Regions from separate parts of the Homo sapiens genome. Here all the other regions are linked to region 3. Evidence: promoter capture Hi-C in human tissues and cell types (Jung and others, 2019). All regions are on one chromosome and are shown on one strand. Each heading gives the region's core, a stretch centred on a gene start or on the middle of the fragment in contact. The rest is flanking DNA. Distances are from core to core; before and after follow the strand shown. Region 1 overlaps DNAJC1 (DnaJ heat shock protein family (Hsp40) member C1). Region 2 overlaps KIAA1217. Region 3 holds the start of MSRB2 (methionine sulfoxide reductase B2).

Region 1 (2,702 bases), core at 43-2,542, 1.3 Mb after region 3:
GTTGGCCAGACTGGTCTTGAACTCCTGACCTCGGATGATCTGCCCTCCTTGGCCTCCCAAAATGCTGGGATTATAGGCATGAGCCACCGTGCCCAGGCTCATAGAAGCTTTTTATCTAAGGAACTTCCCTTCTATTTCTAGCTTGAGCATTTTTATCATGAATAGACATTGGATTTTGTCACATGATTTTGCTTCATCTATTGAGATGATCACATGATTTTTATCCTGTGTTTTATTAATATGGCATAGTATATAAATTGATCTTTGGATGTTAAACCAACCTTACATTCCCACTTGATCATGTTGTATATACATTTTATATGGTGCTGGATTTGGTTAGCTAATTTTTTTTTTTTTTTTTTTGAGGTGTTGTCTCACTCTGTCACCCAGGCTGGAGAGCAGTGGCACGATCTCAGCTCACTGCAACCTCTGCCTCCCGGGTTCAAGCAATTCTCCTGCCTGAGCCTCCAGAGCAGCAGGGATTCCAGGCGCCTGCCACTATGCCTGGCTAACTTTTTTGTATTTTCAGTAGAGACAGGGTTTCACCATGTTGGCCAGGATGGTCAGAAACTCCTGACCTCAAGTGATCCGCCCACCTCAGCCTCCCAAAGTGCTGGGATTCCAGGCATAAGCCACCACACCCGGTCAAGGTTAGCTAGTAATTATGGATTTTTGTTTCTTTGTTCATGAGAGCGAATGGTCTATAGTTTCCTTGTGATGTCTTTGTCTGGCTTTGATATCAGGGTAATGCTAGCCTCATAGAATAAATAGAAAGTGTTCCTTCCTCCCCTAATTTCTGAAAGTTTGTGAACAATTGTTATTATATCTTCTTTGAGTATCTGATAGAATTCACCAGTGAAGCCAGCTAGGCCTTGGCTTTTCTTTATGGGAAGACTTTTAGTTACTAATTCATTTGTTTTTAAGTTATTACGGGTCTATTCAGATTTTCTATTTCTTCTTGATTAAATTTTAGTAATTTCTAGGGATTTATTCATTTCATTCACATCAGCGGTTGTGCTCTGAAAGTGCTTGAATAATAAAAGTGTGGCTGATATTCTCTCCAAAGAAGATTTTTTTTTGACCACAGATTTCATTTCTTTAATGATGGGTGAACTATCCATGTTTTTCATTTCTTTTGGTTACGCTAAGCTAACGGTTTATCAATTTTGTTGATCTTTTCAAAAAATCAACTTTTTGTTTCATTGATCTTTGGTATGGTTTTTTCAGTTTCAATTTTATTTCTACTCTGAACTCTATTATTCCTTTCTTTCTGCTAACTTTGGGTTTGGTTTCTTGCTTTTCTAGTCCTTGAAATGCATCATTAGGTTATTTATTTGAAATCTTTCTCCTTGTTTATGGCTATAATCTTGCCTCTAATATTGCTTTTTCTGTATTCAGTAGATTTTGATTTGTTGTGTTTTTAATTTCGTTTGTTTCAAGAATGTTTTTAATTTTCTTTTAAATTTTTTTATTGACCAATTGGTCGTTCAGGAGCACATTTAATTTTCATATATTTGTATGGTTTTGAAAGTTCCCTTGGTATTGATTTCTAGTTTTGTTTCACTGTGGTCAGAGAGGATACTTGATATGATTTCTACTTTTTAAAAATTTGTTGAGACTTGTTTTGTGGCGTAACATGTGGTCTGTCCTGGAGAATGTTCCATGAGCTGATGAGAAGAATGTGTATTCTGTAGCTGTTGGATGAAGTGTTCTGTAAATGTCTGTTAGTTCCATTTGGTCTAAGATGCAATTCAAATTCAGTGTTTTCTTGTTGTTGATTTCCTGTCTGAATGATCTGTCCACTGCTGAGTGTGGGGTGTCAAAGTTCCCAACTGTTGTTGTATTGGAGTCTATCTCTCCCTTTAGATCTAATAATATTTGCTTTTATGTATCTGGTTTCTCCAATGTTGGGTGCATATATATTCACAACTGTGCATATATATTCACATCTTGCTGAATTGATCCTTTTATCATCATATAATGACCTTTTTTGTCTCTTTTTGCAGCTTTTCACTTAAAGTCTGTTTTATATGATATAAATATAGCTATGTCTTCTCACTTTTGTTTTCCTTTTGCATGGAGTATCTTTTTTCTTCCTCTACTTTCAGTCTGTATGTGTCTTTATAAGTGAAGTGAATTTCTTATACGTAGCATATAGTATAGTTGACTCATATTTTTAAAAATTTTATTTTGCCAGTCTATATCTTTTAAGTGAAGAATTTAATCTGTTCATATTCAAGGTTATTATTGATAAATGAGGACTTACTCCTGTCATTTTGTTCATTGTTTTCTTGTTGTTTTAGGTATCTTTTTTTCCTTTCTTCCTCTCATGTCATTGTGGTTTGGTGGTTTTCTGTAATATTAAGATTTGATCCTTTTTCTGCTTTGTGTATTTGCTATAACAGTGAATTTTATACTTTTGAGTGTTTTCATGATGGTGATTATCATCTTTTTGCTGCCAGATGCAGGACTTCCTTGAGCATTTCTTGTAAGGCCAATGTAGTGGTGATGAATTCTCTTAGTTTTTGCTTGTCTGGGAAAGATTTTCTTTCTCATTTCTGAAAGATAGTTTTGCTGGGTACAGTATTCTTTGGTGGCTTTTTTTTTTTTGGCAATTTATTGAATACATTGTTTCATTCTTTTGTAGCTTGCAAGGTTTCTCTGGAGAAATCTAATGGGAATCCTCTTAAATGTAACTTGAC
Region 2 (2,700 bases), core at 151-2,650, 1.2 Mb before region 3:
ATCTGCCATTTAGGGAAGGCTGGATACATCTTTCAGCTTCTGTGTTCTCTGATTCCCTGAGGTTGACTTTGATCTGAGTTTGTTTTGATTCTCAAATCAAGACTTGGTAGACTTCACTAGGTGGTAATGCAACTAAAAAAGGGTCCTGGGATGGGATGAGGGAATCAAGGACTCATTTTGATCCAGGATCTAAAAGTAAAAAAGAAAATGAGAAAGGGGAAGGGCCCCACATCTCATCCGGGCTCCCCACAGATGTCTGGTGAACACGTGTGGGCCTCAGGGGAATTTGGAGTATGGTTCCAACCCTCCCTCCACCCCCCACGCCGTTCCATCCTTTCTCAGGAATAAGCTTGGCACTTTTTGCCAAACACTTCTCTAGTAAATATCTTTGTTTCCATTCCCCCAATACACCAAAGTTTTTTAAAGCCATTAGAAAACCAGGTAGAAACTGAAGAGCCTCTCTGGACAGAATATTCTTCAACAGTACGAGGGGCAGAACTGAAGTCTCCATGTAGAAGTCATTACACTGCCTTTTCCCATTAGGCCACCAGTACCATGGCCATGGGTTTCCTTACCTCACTCTATTCATGCTACCTTTGAAAAAAATTGTTTTCCTGACCATCTTGTTTCATACATTTATATGTCCCCAAATCCCTTTGCTCTGCTCAGTCCAAAATACCTTCAGTCTTTCCAACTCCCTGGGCCTTCTTTCTCTCCTGCATATAAATGGCTAGCAGCTGTTTTCACTGACCTATGACCTTATGATGCGTCCCACTTTGTTGTTATTCTCTGTTGACCAGATATTCCATATCTTGGCCATGCATTTCTTTGGCTGCTGGCTCAATATCACCTCAACACAAAGATATCTGAACGAAACACTCTGGGCCACAAAATCAGCCTCTAAGACTGAGATAGCAGTGGTATGGTCAGAACCAAAATAAGGCAAAGCAGACAGACACACACACACACAAAGCAAATCCTCCTACTGCTAACAGTTTCTACTAAAATGTAAAACTAAGGCTTTTGAAAACCAGTGTTGGTTCTGTTCCTTCAGGAAAATCACAATTTCTCCTTAATTCTATTTCTACTTCAAATGTGGGGACTGTGCTTTTTTTTTCCCAAGGTTTCTTTCAGGACATCTTAATTTAGGCAATGGGAAGCCAGAGACATGGAATGAGGCATCAGATAGCAAGCCTTATCACCTGCACTTACTCCAGGGCCAGGGATTTTCATGCTTGAGGGTTTGCTTTTTATTTTCTATGGGCTTTGGCGAAGTCTCTTCTCTGCTTCTACAGTCTCAAAACATTTTCCTCATGGGAAAGACAGTTAGTTAACTTCTCAAGCACTAGGAAGAACTGAGATCTCTGCTGCCTCCACTCCAAGGATTGCCACTATGGGCTCCAAGCCAGATCAACACTGTCTGTGTGCAGAGTTGTAGTCAGGCAGGAACAAGATGGGACATGCCAGACCTCATCTGCACTTTGCGAAGGTGACACACACCAGCCCCGCAGGCAACTGTGCCTGCTTTTAGAAACTCCTAAGCAAAGTACTGAGGCAGAACCAGAGGGAGAAGTGAGGGGAAAAGCAGCTTTTTTTTTTTTTTTTTTTTTTTGGTCATCTGAGCTTGAGTTAATCGGCAGCACTCGGCTTTCTAACCTTTGAGGCATTTCTAAATCTGATCCCACACACTCATTCTTTCAGAGCCCGGCAAGGTAAGATGAACTGATTACACCATACTTAGAAACATCCTGTAGAATCAAAGAAAAATGCTTCCTGCCTTTGTACAGAAAATTAAGAGATTTTTCAAAGTGAAGAAAAGCAATTTAATTACCATTAAACAAGGTTTAACTGCTGTGGGCAATCATTCTCTGCTTGAGAAGCATAATTTCACTTGAAAGAAACCAGATTGGCCCCCGGCCCTCTTTTGGCTTATCCTCAGCAAGAAGCGACTGGGAACAACTGACTCTTGGGTGAGCTGTCCAGATAGTTAGAAACATATCACACAGCAGTTTAGGGACCCCAGGGGGGGCAGGGAAACCCCAGAATCAGGCCACTCCTGTACCTTGCTCCTGTCTGCTGCTCGGAAGGGCCCCCCACAGCAGAAACATGTGATGCCTCCTTTCTTCTTTGGCCCTTCTACAGAAGGGCAGACATGGGTCTTCATGTCCAGATGTGGCATGGAACATCAGCCAGACCTTTAATGTTCTGGGAGCAGTCCAGTGCTGAGCCCACGGGTGGCGGGACCCGCCCGCTCCACAACCAGCTCGTCCATTCTCCCAGCAAGCAGGCCTGACGCACCCCTGACAGTCAGCCGCTCAGGATTTGAAGTGTGATTCACAGCTAGAAAATACCGGTTTTTCATTACTATGCAAATGCCACCTGGGTGGGGTTTAGGTAAATCCGGATGTGGACACTAACAATGAGGGCAAGAATGGGTCTCTTTTCCGTAGTTCTCACTGGGCCCAGTGGGTTCCACCCAGTGGCAGTCTTTAAAGAAAATTACAGGCCGGGTGTCATGGCTCATGCCTGTAATCCCAGCACTCTGGGAAGCCGAGGGAGGTGGATGGCTTGAGGTCAGGAGTTCGAGACCAGCCTGGCCAACATGGTGAAACCCTGTGTCTACTAAAAAATACAAAAATTAGCTGGGCATGGTGGCGGGCTCCTGTAATCCCAGCTACTTGGGAGGCTGAGGCAGGAGAA
Region 3 (2,931 bases), core at 78-2,577:
AGTAGTTACCGCTAAAACCACCATCCTTTTTCAAGGGGTTATAGAGAGCTCGTCGGTAACTGTGACCTGTTTCTATCACCTGTGGTTCTCAGCAATACAATGCTTGGCACACAGTAGGCTCACAGCAAATGTCATCAGACTGACTAGAGACACCAGTGATTAGAAAGGCCATAGCTGGAAGTCAAGTTGGATGAGCTAACATTCCACAACGCCAACGCTTTTATTTAGTTACGTATTCTTTCAATATTGCATTTCGAAAACTTCAGGGGCTAAAAAGAGCTCAGAATGAGTTGGTACATTTTCATCAGTTGGGTATCTCTGAATGTCTTCAATGAACACATATAAAATTGGATTCAGAGTGGGTCAGTCTGGCAACCGCCCAGGAAGCCAATCCCCTGGGGCACTAAGTTACCCTGAAATAGAACTGAAATACAGGGGTAGCTGGCACAGGTCTCCCGAGGTGACTCCTTCCTGCTTGGTGAAATGTGCAGGTACCCAGATCCAAGAGAGGATCCAAAAGTATTTAGCAGAAACACACACACACACACACACAGAGAGAGAGAGAGACACACACACACAGGCTCGCCCTGGTCTCTGTCTCAGTCATTAACAATGGCTGTCACCTTAAAGAAGGAACAAATGATCAACCCAGTCTCCCTGGCTCTTAGACACATTTATGGGAAGTCAGCAGGGCAGGAAACACTCACAGGAACCCCAAGTCTGAACTGCCTGCTTCTCAGATGCTGGAAGGAAGCCCGCGGAACTACGAAGAGGGCTGCAATGCAAAATACTAGGGGCCTTCGCAGGGGCGCGCGGGCCGGGCTGCTACAGCCCAGGCCCCGGGCCTTCGCCTGGAGTCCCCGATAGGGGTCAGAGGCCCCCGAGCCCCACTTATGCCCCCACTCCCCGAGCCAAGAAAAAAAAAATTATGCGCACATTTAGGGGGATCATTTGTTCATTTCCTCGGATTCTCACAGGGGTCAGTCCCCACCCTGCCGCCACCAAGTTTACAATCCACTGTCCCAGATCCTCGGGCTGGGGGGGGGGAGGGGCGCGCCGAGGAGGGCTTAGTAGGAGGGCAGCGCCCGGCCTGGACCGGCCCTAGGCTCCCGGGTGCAGCCGGTGAAATGAAGCCGAAAGCCGTAGGCGGCGGCGGGGCCTGCGGGACCCGCGTCCTACCTGCCTCCCCCAGTCCCGGCCCGGTGCCGGGCCCGCCGCCGCCCGCTTGGCCCCGCACCGCCCGCCGAGGCGCAGTTCCGAGGGTCAGGCCCCGGAGCAACCAGAGGAGCCGCGCCATGACGCCCGCTCCGGCGCCGCTCCGCCCTCTGCCCTCTGCCCGTCTCTGCCCCTGCTCCCATCCCACCCCTCCCCCATTCTCTCCCGTCCGCCTGCGCTAGTCGGCCTCCCTCCCCACGCTCCGCCCACACCGCCAGTCCCCTCGTCTCCCTCCCCCTCTTCTCCCTCCCCTGCCCCTCCCTCCTTCCCTCCTTCCCACCTGCTCCTCCCACTATGTGCCCTGGGCCCTCCCAGGTCCCCGCCCCTCTTTCCTCCCACTCTGCCTCTCTCTCCCCCTCCCTCTTCCTCTCCTTTTCCCCTTGCCTTTCCTCCCCCTTCCTCTCCCCCTTCCTCTCTCCCTTCCCTTCCATGAGACCCTCCCCAACCCATCTCTGCATCTCCCAGCTCCTCCCACTCCTGCTCCTCCCTCGCCCTGCCCCCCTCCACCTATCCCAACTCCACTCATCCGCAGCCCAAACACTGATCTGTTTTAGTTTGCATTTTCTAGAGTCGTCCATAAATGGAATCATCCCATATGTACTTGATTTTGTCTGGCTTCTTTCACTCAACATAGTTACTTTGACATGCCTGCGTGTTTTTGCATGGAACAATCATTCATTGCTTCCTGAGCAGTATTCCATTTATGGATATACCACCGTGTGTTTAGTCAGCACTTGATTTAGCCTGCTTTCAATTTTTCCTGATTAGAACTACAGCTGCTAGGAACATCCCTGTGCAAATCTTTGTACAGACATATACGGTTTTTCCTCTCTGGGGTAAATACCTGGAAGTGGAATGCCCAGGTCGTAAGGTAGGTGTAACCATTTAAGAAACTACTATACTGTTTTCCCAAGTGGTTTTTTTCTTTACCTTCCCACTAGCAGTCTATGCGAGTTCCAGTTGTTCTTCATCCTTGCCAACACTTGAAAGTCCAGAGATTTTAACTGTAGATGTTCCGGTTCTGTGTAGTGGTAGCTCATTGTGGCTTTATTATGCATTCTCTAATCGTTAATGATGTTAAGCATCTTTTCATGTGCGTATTTGCAGCGAGTGTATTTTCCTTGGTGAAGTGTCCGTTCAGATCTTTTGCCCATTTAATGTTGAGTTGTTTCATTATTGAGCTTAGAACACTTTATATATTTTGGATGCAAATCTTTTATCAAACATATGCTTTACAAAGATTTTTTTTCCCAGTCTCTTGTTTGTCTTTTCTGTCTCCTAATATTGTCTTGGGAAGAGCAGTTTTTAATTTTGATGAAGCCCAATTTATCAATTTGTTAATGGATTGTTCTTTTTTTGGTATCATATTTAAGAAATCTTTGCCTAATCCAAGATCACAAAGATTCTCTCCTATGTTTTGTTCTAAAATTTTTATAGTTCTAGGTTTTACATTTAGGTCTCTGACCGATTTAGAATTTTTATATATGGCCAAAATTTTTGTTTTGTTTTGTTTATCTGTTTTGTTTTTTGCATATCTATATCCAGTTGTTCCAGCACCATTTTTATTGATTGATTGATTGATTGATTGAGACAGAGTCTCTGTCGGCCAGGCTGGAGTGCAGTGGCACGATCTTGGCTCACTGCAACTTCCATCTTCCAGGCTCAAGCAATTCTTCTGCCTCAGCCTCCTGAGTAGCTGGGATTACAGGCGTGTGC

Evidence for each region. The method cuts DNA at HindIII sites, captures the fragments that hold promoters and counts their contacts. A contact is called where the count stands out against the background at its distance.
Region 1: a contact is called between a fragment that was not itself captured here and the fragment with the promoter of MSRB2 in region 3, in 1 of the 25 tissues and cell types used here (lymphoblastoid cells).
Region 2: a fragment that was not itself captured here is called in contact with the fragment with the promoter of MSRB2 in region 3 in 1 of the 25 tissues and cell types used here (mesenchymal stem cells).

Annotation. Positions count from the first base shown.
Region 1 is chr10:21,790,420-21,793,121 of GRCh38, reverse strand. All of the region lies in intron 9 of DNAJC1 (DnaJ heat shock protein family (Hsp40) member C1), which reads left to right. Among named protein-coding and RNA genes, the nearest start is that of DNAJC1, 210 kb to the left of the region's middle. The HindIII fragment of the contact is 6,292 bases long and covers 1-2,702 here.
Region 2 is chr10:24,254,959-24,257,658 of GRCh38, reverse strand. The region is part of intron 2 of KIAA1217; the gene reads right to left. Among named protein-coding and RNA genes, the nearest start is that of MIR603, 19 kb to the left of the region's middle. The HindIII fragment of the contact is 4,955 bases long and covers 1-2,700 here.
Region 3 is chr10:23,093,975-23,096,905 of GRCh38, reverse strand. It overlaps MSRB2 (methionine sulfoxide reductase B2), which reads right to left and starts at 1,327. Exons shown (of 5, transcript NM_012228.4): 1 at 1,180-1,327. The coding sequence starts at 1,297. LOC107984215 (a long non-coding RNA gene) reads left to right here and starts at 1,627. Exons shown (of 3, transcript XR_001747394.2): 1 at 1,627-2,086. RefSeq lists a silencer at 1,050-1,519. The HindIII fragment of the contact is 14,874 bases long and covers 1-2,931 here.